Regions from separate parts of the Homo sapiens genome. Here all the other regions are linked to region 5. Evidence: promoter capture Hi-C in 16 types of primary human blood cells and fetal thymus (Javierre and others, 2016). All regions are on one chromosome and are shown on one strand. Each heading gives the region's core, a stretch centred on a gene start or on the middle of the fragment in contact. The rest is flanking DNA. Distances are from core to core; before and after follow the strand shown.

Evidence for each region. The method cuts DNA at HindIII sites, captures the fragments that hold promoters and counts their contacts. A CHiCAGO score of 5 or more calls a contact.
Region 1: a fragment that was not itself captured here is called in contact with the fragment with the promoter of PNMA3 in region 5 in 1 of 17 cell types (activated CD4 T cells); the score reaches 5.6 in activated CD4 T cells.
Region 2: a fragment that was not itself captured here is called in contact with the fragment with the promoter of PNMA3 in region 5 in 11 of 17 cell types (total B cells, naive B cells, M2 macrophages and 8 more); the score reaches 10.4 in total B cells.
Region 3: a contact is called between a fragment that was not itself captured here and the fragment with the promoter of PNMA3 in region 5, in 11 of 17 cell types (naive B cells, naive CD8 T cells, M1 macrophages and 8 more). The highest score is 9.3, in naive B cells.
Region 4: a fragment that was not itself captured here is called in contact with the fragment with the promoter of PNMA3 in region 5 in 5 of 17 cell types (total B cells, naive CD8 T cells, M1 macrophages and 2 more); the score reaches 8.5 in total B cells.

The regions. Positions count from the first base shown.
Region 1 is chrX:153,713,731-153,716,430 of GRCh38, reverse strand. BCAP31 (B cell receptor associated protein 31) reads left to right here. Exons shown (of 8, transcript NM_001256447.2): 4 at 742-889. Among named protein-coding and RNA genes, the nearest start is that of BCAP31, 9.3 kb to the left of the region's middle. The HindIII fragment of the contact is 1,152 bases long and covers 836-1,987 here.
Region 2 is chrX:153,658,428-153,661,127 of GRCh38, reverse strand. No RefSeq gene overlaps it. Among named protein-coding and RNA genes, the nearest start is that of DUSP9, 13 kb to the right of the region's middle. The HindIII fragment of the contact is 4,415 bases long and covers 1-2,700 here.
Region 3 is chrX:153,630,471-153,633,170 of GRCh38, reverse strand. No RefSeq gene overlaps it. Among named protein-coding and RNA genes, the nearest start is that of DUSP9, 15 kb to the left of the region's middle. The HindIII fragment of the contact is 255 bases long and covers 1,276-1,530 here.
Region 4 is chrX:153,571,311-153,574,010 of GRCh38, reverse strand. All of the region lies in intron 21 of ATP2B3 (ATPase plasma membrane Ca2+ transporting 3), which reads right to left. Among named protein-coding and RNA genes, the nearest start is that of CCNQ, 26 kb to the left of the region's middle. The HindIII fragment of the contact is 8,767 bases long and covers 1-2,700 here.
Region 5 is chrX:153,055,020-153,057,719 of GRCh38, reverse strand. PNMA3 (PNMA family member 3) reads right to left here and starts at 1,250. Exons shown (of 2, transcript NM_013364.6): 1 at 1,082-1,250; 2 at 1-770. The coding sequence starts at 664. The HindIII fragment of the contact is 3,087 bases long and covers 1-2,700 here.

The DNA of each region.
Region 1 (2,700 bases), core at 162-2,661, 660 kb before region 5:
CCCCGGAGCAGGCATTTCCATCTCCAGGTTCAACTTATCATTGTGGGGGTTGGGGGGCTATGGGCCAACTTGAGATGAACAGAACAAGACGCGGTGAGGGTACCATGGGAAAAGGAAGCCACCCCCATTTCCAGAAACTCTTTAGGCTTGGTTAGCATCGTGAACTGCAGAGCAAGCCTGGGGCCTGTGTAGAATGGGGCCAGGGATTGAAAAGCTGGAGGAAGGAGTGGGTCTGAGGGTGGGAGCTTCCTTTTTTTTTTTTTTGAGATGGAGTTTCGCTCTTGTCCCCCGGTCTGGAGTGCAGTGGCTCAATTTCGGCTCACTGCAACCTCCGCCTCCCGGGTTCAAATGATTCTTTTGCCTCAGCCTCCCGAGTAGCTGGGATTACAGGCGCCCACCACCACGCCGGGCTAAATTTTTTTTTTTTGTATTTTTAGTAGAGATGGGGTTTTGCCATGTTGGCCAGGCTTGTCTCGAACTCCTGACCTCAGGTGATCTGCCCGCCTCTGCCTCCCAAAGTGCTGAGATTATAGGCGTGAGCCACTGCACCTGGCCTGAGGGTGGGAGCTTCTGATAACAGCATCCCATGAGGGGTGTATGTGCATAGAAGTGGGAAGAACTGGGGAGGCGGATTTGAGGGAAGTGAGTCTGACCTGTCTCATGCCGCCTGTCTGCCTGGTATGGCCTTATCTTGCCCTAGTGTCCGCTAAATGCCCGTGTCTCCTCTCTGCTCCACCACAGATGCCGTGCGCGAAATTCGGAAGTATGATGATGTGACGGAAAAGGTGAACCTCCAGAACAATCCCGGGGCCATGGAGCACTTCCACATGAAGCTTTTCCGTGCCCAGAGGAATCTCTACATTGCTGGCTTTTCCTTGCTGCTGTCCTTGTGAGTGGGGGGTTGAGGGGGCAGGTGCTGTGAAAGGAGCCATGGGCTAGCCATGGACACCGAGCTCAGTGGGCTCAGTCTCCCCCCTGTGACTTTGATTCCTCCTCAGTCTGTGGCCTGGATCCCAAAGCCCTGTCTGTGTTAGGGAAGCCACATAGTTTTCTCCTGACCTCCAGAGGCAGCGTGGAGAGTAGGAGAGGGCTGCCTGAAATATCAGAAGACCCTCACACACCACATACTCTCAGGCAAACAGATGACTATCTCACGGTCTGTTTGCATGGAGAGTGAGATGTAACGGTAAGGCCTTGCCCTCCTCTGGGAGAGGACCTTCAGAGTCCAGCTCACAAGGGAGCGACTGAATGGGGGACTCTTTGTGTCCGGGGTGTTGACCTAGGGACAGCAGGTAAAAGTGGCACGAAGAGGCTGGGCCTCTCCTCACCTCAGGGCCTTCCCCACGTGAAACTCGTAATGAGGACATGTTACATTCCATGGCAGCCAGAGTATTTCTGATGATTTTTTTGGTAAAACTAAGTACCTTAATCAAGGCTAAGGGTAACTAGTCGGGCAAAACTAGACCACTACGAAGTGCCTATTTGAGCCTGGGGCCCTGTTTGCTGCCTCCTGCTTCACATAGCCGTTCTGATCAGCAGGGCCTGGCTGGGAGGTGGATGGGAGCTCAGACCATGTATGAAGGCATTGGAAAGGCGCTTGCTTTGAGGGTGGAGCTCTCATCACTTAATCACTTCTCAAAAGACCCCACCTCTTAATGCTACGGCAGTGAGGATTAAATTCCAACACATGAAGTTTGAAGGGCACTCAGACCATAGCACCAAGTGATTCTCAGGCTCATGGACAGTTATTCCCCACTTGGTTTTGTGCCCCGAGACTCAAGAATCTCCATGCCTAGGAGATTCTTGCTCTCTAGTCACCTGGTGTGTCCTGCTTTACTAGGCGCTACGATGACTACTTGTCTTAAAATCTGTTGTTTAGATGATCTGGTACTCTCTGCGACCAAGTTGGAAAGAGGGGTGGAGCTAGAAAAGGCAAACACATTTTTTTCAAGATAATGGGTTTGATCACAGATTTGATCTACAAGCTTGCTGTCTTCAAACTTAGGAAAGTCAGGAAGGCTGGGAGGAGTCAGACACATACCCTAAATTTTTCAGGAAGTTCCAAACAAGTATTATCTTGTGGTCTGAGGCTGAAAGGGAAGCAGATCTGAAAGACTGAGTCTCAAACCCAGAATTCTGAGTGTGACAGTCAGCAAAATGAGGAAAAAAGACCACATTGAGAGGGAAAGAGAGGAAACTAGGCCATCTACCAGAAAAGCATCTAGAGCTTTAAGAATGGTATGGGGGAGGGGTGGGCTGGGTGCGGTGACTTAGGCCTGTAATCCCAGCACTTTGGGAGGCCGAGGCAGGTGGATCACCTGAGGTCAGGAGTTCGAGACCAGCCTGGCCAACATGGTGACACCCAGTCTCTACTAACAATACAAAAAAATTAGCTGGGCTTGGTGGTAGGTGCCTGTAGTGCCAGCTACTCGGGAGGCTGAGGCAGGAGAATTGCTTGAACCCGGGAGGCAGAGGTTGCAGTGAGCCGAGATCACACCACTGCACTCCAGCCTGGGTGACATCTCAAAAAAAAAAAAAAAAAAAAAAAAGAATAGTATCGGGAAGGTGAAAACCTGCCGGGAGCTCTGAATCATGAAAGACATGGAGAAGTGAGGAGAAGGCAGTCCCTTTTATATGTCTGTGTAAGGAAGGAGATGGAGGGTAGGTGGTCAAGGGCAAAGGAAACACTAGGATGAGAAA
Region 2 (2,700 bases), core at 91-2,590, 600 kb before region 5:
TTCTAATTTCCTTTGTTTTTTATTTGACGTGCCAGTTATTTAGAAGAGTGTTGTATAATTTCCAAGTATTTTGGACTTCCTAGGTTTCTATCTTTTTAGATTTATAATTTAATTCTGTTGCAGTCAGAGAAATATTTTATATTATTTAAATTATTTAAATTCCTTTAAATATATTGAGACTTGTTTTATGGTCTATCCTGGAGAATGTTTCATGTGCACTTGAAAAAAATGTGTATTTGGCAATTGTTGAATGGTGTGTTCTATAGGTATCAGTTAGGTCAAATTTGTTGATAGTGTTGTTCAGATTTTATATATCCTTGCTGATCTTCTGTCTAGTTCCATCAACTATTGAAAATAGAGCATTGAAATGTCCATCTGTTATATTTGAATTTTCTTTTGTATTTTTAGTAGAGACAGGGTTTCCCCATGTCGGCCAGGCTGGTCTTGAACTCCTGACCTCAAGTGATCTGCCCGCCTCGGCCTCGCAAAGTGCTGGGATTACAGGCGTGAGCCACCGTGCTGGCCAATTTTCCTCTGTTGATTTTTAATTACATTGAAGCAGAAATTTAGACATAAACATGCTTCATTCACTCCAAGTTTGAGTTATTTTCTTAGGGTTTTCTCTAGCTATTACATTATGAGTCTTAACTAATCACAATCCACCTCAGATGAATACTCACTTAATTTTGGTGAAATATGGAGACTTTGCCTCAGTATGGCTACATTCTTTCCCACTTCTTTTGTGCTAGTAATGCCATGTTTATTACATCTATATAGGTTATAAGCCCTGAAATACAGTGTAATACCTATTTTTTAATGCAATCTTATGTTTTTAAAAGAGAAGAAATGAATAAAAATATGTTGAGAGGCTTTTATATTAGCTCACTTATTAACCATTTTTTCTGCTCTCCATTTCTTACTTTGAATTCCAGTTACTAACTGGTGTCATTTCCTTTCAGCCTGAAGGACTTCCTTGAGTATTTCTTGTAAGGAGGCAGGCTAGCAATGAACTATGTTAGCCTTTGTTTATCTGGGAATGTCTTTTTTTAAACCTTCAATTTTTTTTTTTTTTTTTTTTTTTTTTTTGAGATGGAGCCTCTCTCTGTCACCCAGGCTGGAGTGCAGTGATGTGATCTCGGCTCACTGCAACCTCTGCCTCCCAGGTTCAAGCGATTCTCATGCCTCAGCCTCCCAAGTAGCTGGGATTACAGGTGCATGCCACCATGTCTGGCTAATTATTGTATTTTTAGTAGAGACGGGGTTTCACCATGTTGGTCAGGTTGGTCTCGAACTCCTGACCTCAGGTGATCCGCCTGCCTTGGCCTCCCAAAGTGTTGAGATTACAGGCGTGAGCCACCGCACCCAGCTATGCACCCAGCTTCAATTTTTAAAGCATAGTTTTGCTAGATATAAAATTTGGGGGCTGGGTGCAGTGGTTCACACCTGTAATCTGAGCACTTTGGGAGGCTGAGGCAGGCAGATCATTTGAGCCCAGGAGGTTGAGGCTGCGATGAGCTGAGATCACACCACTGCACTCCAGCCTGGGTGACAGACTGAGACTCTGTCTCAAAACAAATTTTTTTTGGTTGATAGTATTTTTTTCTTTCAGTGCTTTCAGTTTGTTGTTCCACTCCCTTGTGGCCTCCATTGTTTCTGATGAGAAGTCAGATGTTAATTTTATTGTGGTTCCCTTCTATATGGGTCATTTATTTCTTCTGCTATAATACTTTCAAAATTGTCTGTCTTTGGCTTTCGATAATTTACCATGAAATGTCTATGAGTGGCTCTCTTTGTGTTTATCTCACTTGGGGTTATTCGAACTTCTTGGATCTGATGAATGCTTTTCACCAAATGCTGGTGTTTAGCCATTATTTATTCAAATATTTATTCTGCCCCTTTCTCTTTCTCCTCTTCCTCAGAGCCTCCAATTACACATATCAAAATATGTGTTCAGTTTTAAGTCTGTTCTGGTTTTACTTCTTCTTAGGAGACACTGATGACTTGCAGGCTCCTTACATGCTGGACCAGAAACTGAAATTCCTCTCTGTCACCCAGGCTGGAGTGCACTGGTGTGATCACGGCTCACTGCAACCTCCACCTCCTGAGCTCAAGCAATCCTCCTGCTGCAGCCTTCTGAGTAGCTGGGACTATAGGTGTGCACCACCACGCCTGGCTAATTTTTTGTATTTTTTTGTAGAGATGGGGTTGTGCCATACTTCCCAGAGTGGTCTTGAAGTCCTGGGCTCAAGCAATCCATATGGGCCACATTTTTATGTCTCTTCTATCTGAGTCAGAAAGCCGGGATGTAGAGCTCTCCTAGTCTGTCTCCTTTCTCTCAGGGACCACAGTCCTTCACTGATTGCTGTCCCCCATCTGAAAACAATGGATTTTCATATATTTTGCCCAATTTCTAGCTGTTTATGGTGAGACAGTAATTCTGGACCCTCTTATTCCCTCATGGCCGTATTGATATTGAGAGACTTTATGTTTTGTTAAGACAAATATACATGTTAAATTTTTTAGAGTAACTAGAATATAAATAGGATGTACTACTTCCAAACTAGTAGAAGAAAATAGCAAATAATGAAGGAAAATTCAGCTAATCACAAAAAGGTCAAGTAAGGGAAATAAAGAAATGGAAACGGGGCTGGGCGCGGTGGCTCACGCCTGTAATCCCAGCACTTTGGGAGGCCGAGGCGG
Region 3 (2,700 bases), core at 154-2,653, 580 kb before region 5:
CTCGTTCTTTCTGTGGCCTTGTCCTGTCTTGAAAAGACTGGGAATTCCTGGGTGAGGCCCATGGGCCTGCTGTGGAATCCCTTTCTCCCGTGCACTGGCGTGCCCCAGAGCCCGAGGGCACTGAGCCTTTTCTCCCCCTGCCTCTCACCTGCCCACCTGTCCCCACTTCTGCTCCAGGGAGCCCGCTGGGTCCCTGTTGCTGCTGTCAGTCCCTTGTTTCTGCCATTCCCTTTCTCTAAATGCACCCTGACCTCTGTTGGAGGCCCCTCCGGCCTTCCCAGCCCAGCCCCGGCCTAGCCCTGCTCCCTTCTCCTGGCACCTGGGCACCCTTCATGGTTTCATGATGCTCCAGGTGGCTGTGCGCCGTCTCAGAGAGCACAGAGTGTGGCTGCCAGGGCCAGGCTGGCCACAGGCCTCCCAGTCTCCCTCAGCTGGCCTGGCCTGAGGCGGGCTGGCCACCCCCCAGGGGCTGGCTAGGCGTGCGCTAGAGGAATAAGGGGGGACAGGGGCAGGAGGAGGGCCAGCTGCCATGTCATCACAATGGTGGTCCCTGGGACACCTCTCCCTGGAATTCTGTGACCAGTCAGCTGCAGGCCTTGGTTACTGAGGAAACCGAAGCCTCGTGTGAGCGCTCGTCATCTGGGAGGAGGGATTCAGGCAGAGTGCGCCTCCGTGAGGGACCAGGTGCTCGGGTGACTGCCCGAATCCTCCTGGGCAGGCTCAGAGATGTGCGCCGAGAGCCTGGCTGCTCCCAGGGCTGCAGAGGCCCTGGGTGAGATGGGGCTGGAAGCAGTGAGGAAGCTGGCCCTGTCCGGAGCCAGAGCAGCCACACTATGTCCACACATAGCTGTGCATATACCTTCACAAGGACGGGGACAGCAGAACGCCTCTCAGCCACGTAGGCCAACTGGCAAGGAGGCAGCCAAGGTTGAGCTATATATATATGTATATATATATCAAAGGATACAATAGAGACAAGGCTAACACTTTCTAGTACAGCCTTAGTATAGAGCTTGCTGTGGAGGCAGAGATCCACAAGCCAGAGAACACCAAAGATCAGCCACAACCCGACAGAAGCCAGGGGAGAGGCCTGGGACGGACCTTTCCCTCCAGCCTTCAGAGGGACCACAGCCCTGCCGACACCCTGATCTTGAACTTCTGGCCTCCAGAGCTGGGAGAGAATAAATGTGTGCTGTTTTCACACATCCCGTGTGCAGCATTTTTTGACAGCAGCTCTAGCAAATGAATGCAGTGCTTCGGGAGTTTCGGGAAGCTTTCTTAAGTGCTCTATCGTTTAACTCAAAAAGATCCCTGTGAAGTTGAGGGTCTTAGCATTTCACAGATGAGGAAATGAAGACTCTGAACATCTGAATGACTTGTTCTTGTTCAGACTAATTCAGCCAGCTGGAGGTAGACCCAGAGTTCAATTAAACTCTTCGATGTGAAGTCTGGATCCAGGAAAGTAAATGTAAGTGCTCTAACATCTTCCAGCTTCCCGATATATTCAGGGTTTAATGTTTTTTGAAAGCTTTGAGCTCTCCAGATATTGTTCAAGTCAACCCTCTCCCATGCACCAACCTGCCTCTGAGAAACTGATTCCTTTTTAGGGAGAGAAAAAATTGCCTTTCTTTTTGTGCTATAAATGTCCCCCAGGGCACTGCTTTAGCTGCATCCCACAAATTTTCCTGTTTTGTAGTTTTGTTTTTGACTATTTTGGTGTATTTAAAAAGTTTTTCCTTTAGACTTCCTCTTGGACCCATGGGCTATTTAGAAGCATGTTGTTTACTTTCCTGGTGTTTGGAGATTTTGCTGTGATTCATTTGGAATTTGATTCTATTGTGGTCAGTGAACACACTGTATGATTTTAGCTCTGTTAAATTCGTTGAGGTTTGCCTGGGATATCGTCTATATTGGGATGTGCCCCATGGGTATTCTGCTGTTGTTGGGCAGAGTGTTCTGTAAATGTCTATCAGATCCTGTTTATAGATGGTAATGTTGAGTTCTTTTATAATTTGCTGATTTTCTGTCTAGTTGTTTTGTCAATTTTTGAGAGAAGTGTGTTAAAATCTCCAACCATAATTGTGGATTTGTCTATTTCCCCTTCCAGTTTTATTAGAGTTGTTTGTTATTGAGACAGGATCTGGTTCTGTTGCCCAGGCTGGAGTGCAGTAGGATAATCACAGCTCACTGCAGTCTCAACCTCCCAGGCTCCGGTGATCCTCCCACTTCAGCCTCCCAAGTAGCTGGGACCACAGGCACACACCACCACACCCGGCTGATTTTTATATTTTTTTGTAGATATGGGGTTTTGCCATGTTGCCCAGGCTGGTCTTGAACTCATGAGCCAAAGCAATCTGCCGGCCTCAGTCTTCCAAAGTGCTGGGGTAACAGGCATGAGTCACTGCACCTAGCCCTCCAGTTTTATGAGTTTTTGCTTCACATATTTTGCAGTTCTGTGGTTTGGTGTATACGCATTTAAGATTGCTATGTTTTCTTGGTGGAATGACCCTTTATCATACACAGTTTTGTTGTTGAAATGAATTTTAAAGATTTTTATGCAGGTGATTTTTTTTTAACCAGTTACAGTTTTCATGATATTTGGCGCCTGGCAACAGAAGAGGGTCTCCGTGAAAAGAGACTCAACTCAGAGGAGGTAGTTTTGCTTTCTTTAGCTATTCCAGACCGAGACTGAGGAAGAGG
Region 4 (2,700 bases), core at 107-2,606, 520 kb before region 5:
CTCCACAGCTGGCTCTTTCCCCAAGGAATTGAACCAAAGAACGGAAAAGACAAGACATGGCTGTGTGTGTGTTGGCAAGCCAGAACTGCTTGCAGCTGGCAAGTTTCATGAAAATTGCCTCCCACCTTGTGTGCACACTCATGCCCAGGACCGTGTGAGCCTAGACCTGTGCTCCCAACACCAGCAAGCTGAACTGACCTGGGCGCGGCGAGTCAGTGTCGGGTGGTCGGACTAAAGAGGACCCAGGAGGAAGGCCCAGCTGAGCCCTTGCCTCCGTACTGGCTGAATCCAGCTGCGGGACCTCCAATTAGTCTTGAGAGGTCTCTGCCCAGGTTCCCAGCTTGGGAGTCCACACTCGGAGTGCCTGATGGGGAGGGCCTTGGACCAGGGGTCCTGGGGTCTGCCCTAGGCTGCGTTCTGGTGCCTACTTTAGGGTTTGCCTGGAAGGGCATTCCCCTGTGGTAGGGCCCAGGGTTCCAGGAAAGCCTAGGGCAGGGCTCTTGGGGGAGGGTTGCTACTGCTTCCAGCATGGAGGCAGGGTGCAGACTGTCAAAGATCTGAGAAAAAATGCCAATACACCGTTCCCAGAAACCAGGTAGGGAGGCTTGGCTCAAAGCACATGACCTTCCTGAGAATGGAGCAAACTCCAGAAAACAAGACTCCTTCCACCACGGGGCTGGGAGTGTGGTGAGCATGTCGCCCTGGGCCCTGGAAAGGAGTGTCCAGGGAAAGCCTGGGACTCACGTGGCCCGGTTTGGCCCCTTTGGCCACACGGTTTTCATGTTGCCAAAGCCAATAAAACCAAGCAACTGCTGTGATCTGTTTCCAGCATGATTAACTGGAACTAAACGGCCCGGAGGGACCCCCGGTGGCCACATGGGACCAGACTCATGGCCTGCTGCCTAACCCCTGCTCCTTTGCTGGGCCAGGTCAGGAGGCATCTCAGGAACGACTCCAACAGTAAGCATCTCACACAGGCCTGGTGTGGCGCTGCTGGAAGGATAGACTTTGGATGCGTGGCTGGGGTTTGTCTGTGTGTCCCAGTGGAAAACAGACATAAAAGGCCTCTCAAGTGGCTTTGATGGGGCTTTCCAAATGATCGCGCACCCTCCCGTGCCTCCTAGTGGCAGACGCGCAGCCCCCTGTGCCTGCTGCCCTTGGTAGACCCGAGTGACTGAACCAGCTGTCCCTGACCAGCTCTCCGGAATATGGACACCCAACAGGGAGGGTGATACTGTGGCCTCGGTGTGTGAGTGTGTGGTTGGGGCATGGTGTGGGGTAGTCACCAGGCTGGGCAGGGGAGGGGCAGTGGAGGCTGCCTGGAGCTGGGGGTCAGAAGTTGTGGCCGGCACAGTCTGACAATGCATGCAGAGGAGGGATATGGGGCCTGTGTTGGGACTCCTGAGTCCAGAAGCAGCAAAGGTGTGGGAGGTTAGACAGGGTGGGGAGGGCTCGAGTGTGTGAGCACTGAGCCCCAGCGATCCCAAATCTCTCGACCCCTCCTAGCCACCCCCTTGCTACTTCCTGCATTGGCCCCAGGGGCACAGGGTGAGGGGATGTCATGCTACCAACCACCGGCCCTTCTCTCTGGAGGACCTGAGGTCCTTAGTAGGAAAGGCTTGGGACGGAGGCAGCTCCAGTGCCCAGAAAGGCCCCAGACTCCTGGTGGGCTGAAAGGCAGCCTGGCCTGGAGCAGGCAAAGAGGATGGGAAACTGTGGGCTTGCCTTAGGAAACCACGTGACTCGACGCCCCTGCAGGCCTAGTTGGGGCAGCCCTCTTGTCTAGGGGAGCTCCGTCACAGCCTTCAGAGCATCTCTCATCCACCAGAAAGTTCCAAGTAGAGGGTGGGCGCTGGTGCTAGTCCCCACTCTGCCAGGCCTGGCTGCTTATGGGACCCAGTGCAGGTCCTGGCCCTTGGGGACAACCTCCTTCCCCTGATCTCTAGGATGAGAGTGCTGGGCTTGGTGATTGCTTGGGGTCCTTGAAGCGTGGAGTGGGGGTTGGGTTCTGAGTTCTAAACCAATCCGCTGCACTGTGATGATGGCAGGAGGTGGTTCTGGCAGGTGGCTTCCAGAAGTGGGCATGTCCTTGGTGTTGCCAGGTCCCCAGCCAGCATCTTCCTCCACGGCAGAGTCCTTTCTGGGATGCTGATGTTCAGCTGGGATGGGCCTCTTCAGAGGGCCCTGCCACCCACCTTCTGCTGGAGCACACAGTGTGCAAGGGACAGCTGCCCTCCTTCTGGCTATCCGCCACTTAGGGCCCCCATGGAATAGCTTGTGAACAGCAGGAGGGGTGGCGTCTCTCCCACTCTACTTACCCCGCACTGCCAGGCTCCGGAGGTGGGGAGGAGGGGGACAGATGGCCACGGAATGAAGGCAGGAAGGAAGTGCTAGGAGCCAAGGAAGAGAGGAGCAAGAGGCTGCCCCAGGGAGGAAGCAGGAGGAATCCAGAGGGAGAAAAGACAGCAGGCCCCACAGAGGCTGGGCTGGACCTGGAGAGGGACAAGGAGCTGGTCCTGGGGTGGGATGAGGCCAGAGCTGTGGAGAAGGCTCGAGGAACGCGTGGAGTGGGGCCGTGGTGGCTGCCTTCCCCTTAACTCAACAAATGGGCAAATGGACAGACAGACAGGAAGCACAGAGAGAGATGGCAAAGAGACATACGGAGGAAGTCAAGGGGGAGGGAGGCGGAGGCACAGCCAT
Region 5 (2,700 bases), core at 1-2,500:
CCCGGAGCCCACTGACCACCTGGAGAGCAGGGCCCCGTAAGCATTCCATCAGCCTCCGCCTCTTTTCCCCCTCGGGCACCTGCCACATCTGTAGCATCTCAGTGGTGTGCTCAAGCCAGGCATCAAAGGCCAGTGCACCTGGGATGGATATGGTGTTCCCAGAAAACACTCTTAGTTCTCGGTACAACATTTGTTCTAGCAGAGGCTGCACTGCTGCCCCCAGAGTCTGGGCCCAGGTCCAGAACTCTGGTGATATAGTCACTCTTGGAGCCGAACAATTGGTGTCCGACCCGAGGACTCGGTTCATATCTGACACGGTCCGCCTCTCCTCCTCTAAGAAGCGGTTCAGTCTGTTGAGAAATTCCCCATCTGAGTTACGGGGTTTTACAATCACTTCCCAGGGCCCCCCCTTTCCTGGTATTTCCCTTGGGAGCAAAGCATAGTCGATATCTTGTGCCAGCTCCAGTAGAATCGCCTGGGCGTTCTCCTCCCTCCTAAACATCCTGCCAATCACCCTGTATCTGCCCAGGTGCCTGCAAGCCTCCTGGAGTGTCTCCTCAAACTCATCCTCGCCACAGTCCTCGGGGATCCCCAGGATGAGCATGCACCTCCGGGTGTTCAGGTGTTCCCCCCGACACCAGTCCTGTAACAAGGTCAACGGCATGTCCTCGAATCTCTGCGGATACTAATTTGGGGGGAGTGATCAGGGCGTGAGGCACATATCTGGATCAACTCCTAGGGTGATCGCAGAAGGCCCAGGTCTCCACAGCCTGTGAATGCGAGCAGGGCGAGAGCGAGGTTAATGCCCACCTCTCCGCACGCCCACATCCACGCCCACCCCCACCCCCACCCCCAGCCGCCCTCCTCCCCGGGCGGCGCCTCTGCAGCCAGGCCCCGCCCCTGCCCAGCCCCCCACCCCCACCCCCCGTGGGGTCTCTGCGGGCCTCAGCCCCCTCCCCGCGCTGCCCCAGGACCCTGGACCCCTGCCCTGCAGGCTGCTTCAGTTCTGATAGGGCGGACAGGCGAGGGGCGGCGGAGTCTCCCGGGGCCCAGCGTCTCCCTCCCCAGGTGGGTCTGTTACCTTCTCCCAGGGCAAGGTCCCTTCTGGTCGGGGTCCCCAGAGGGCTCTCCGGGGGCTATGCGCGGCGGCGGCGGCGGCGGCGGACGGGGGTCGGGCACCCCTGGCTCCCAGCGCGGACGTTCGCTCAGACTGTGGCTCTCCCTCGCTCGCGCAGCACGTGGGCCAGTGCGCCGGCGCCTGCTCGCCGCGGCTCTCTGCAGTGCGGACACGGGGCGGGGGCGCGGCGGCGGTGCAGCGCGGACCCCTCCGCGTCGTCCGGGAGACCGCAGGGCCATTGGCGCGGACGGGTCACGAGGTCGGGCTCTCGCCGCCGCCCCTGGGGGCCCCAGGTCCCCGGGTGACGTCACCTGCTCCTCTCCCCTAGCCCCCCCGCCACGGGGGCCCCCGGGCCCCCGGGCACACAAGCGCCCGCCCACCCCCATCCCCACTGCGGTGGCCAAAGGTCTGTGGCGGCCAGTCCCCGTGCCTTTGGCTCTCACCACAGCGGTTCCTGGTCCCGGCTCCTGCCCCTCCCGCACGTGCCACGGAGGTGCCAGCGGGGCGAGGGGTCTGCACCCCGGCGTGCCCACCAGAGGGCCAGGGAGTGGTCTGAGGTGCGCCAGGCAGCTCTGCATTATGGCCAGGGTCAGGGAGCCGGGTTCTGGGGCCTGTTCACCTGCTCTTGTCCTCCCCCTCCCCGTCCAGGACTGGTCCTCTGGCTGGCGAGGCCAGGGGCACCTGGTGCGGGTGCCATTCCGTGCAGGAGATGCCCCAGGCACTCATGCAGGTCACGCACACCACCCCAAGGAGGGTCAGCCATCTCCCCGCTGTCCATCCCGCTGCTGGGACCTGAGGCCCTCCGGCCAAAGCGCTTCGCTGCCCAGGTGCCAGTGGACAGGTTTACCGGGACCTTTCCGGTTTTGTGCGCTGCAAATCTAGTGACTTGGGAAACCACTTCCAGGACTTGGAGCCCAATCCCTTGGGCCTGCCCTTCCTTGGCAGCCGTGCGCCGTGGGTTCTATTGTATCCGTTTGATCCCAGGGCAGCAGCCAAATGAAGAAGGGAGTGACTGTCCCTCAGGCAGTGGGCCCAGGTGTTCTGTGGGTCCTGCCTGCTCTGCCAGCCGCATGCTCAACTCCTATTCACACAGCTTCAGCTCCTCTCCAAACACAACGAAAAGGGGCTTGTGGTTGATTTTCAGGCCAGGTTCACCCATCCAGCCAAGTCTGGGAGGCCACCTTGCAGTGAGTGGGGCACAAAACTGTCCACTGACTTCCTGCCCCACCCTGAGTTCTGCTCGTCAGCCTGGCACTTGTCAGGGACCAAGAAGAAATGGCCCCAAGGGCTTTTTCCTGGTCAGACAGAATTCCTGAAACATCTTTACAGGAGTTATTTCATTTGCTCCTCACCAGAACTCTGAAGCAGGTATTAACATTATCCTGATTTGACTCATGAGGCTCAGAGAGATTAAGAGACATTTTCAAGGTCACACACCGTATTGAAGGTAGAATTGAGACTGGATTCTAAATTAGTGCCCATCAGTCTTTGGGTAGAATTGGGACTATTTCTCCCCTGGTTGCTTCATGCCTATTAGAATTTATTTCTCTCATTTTTGTCCATTCACAGTCCCTTGCTTTGTC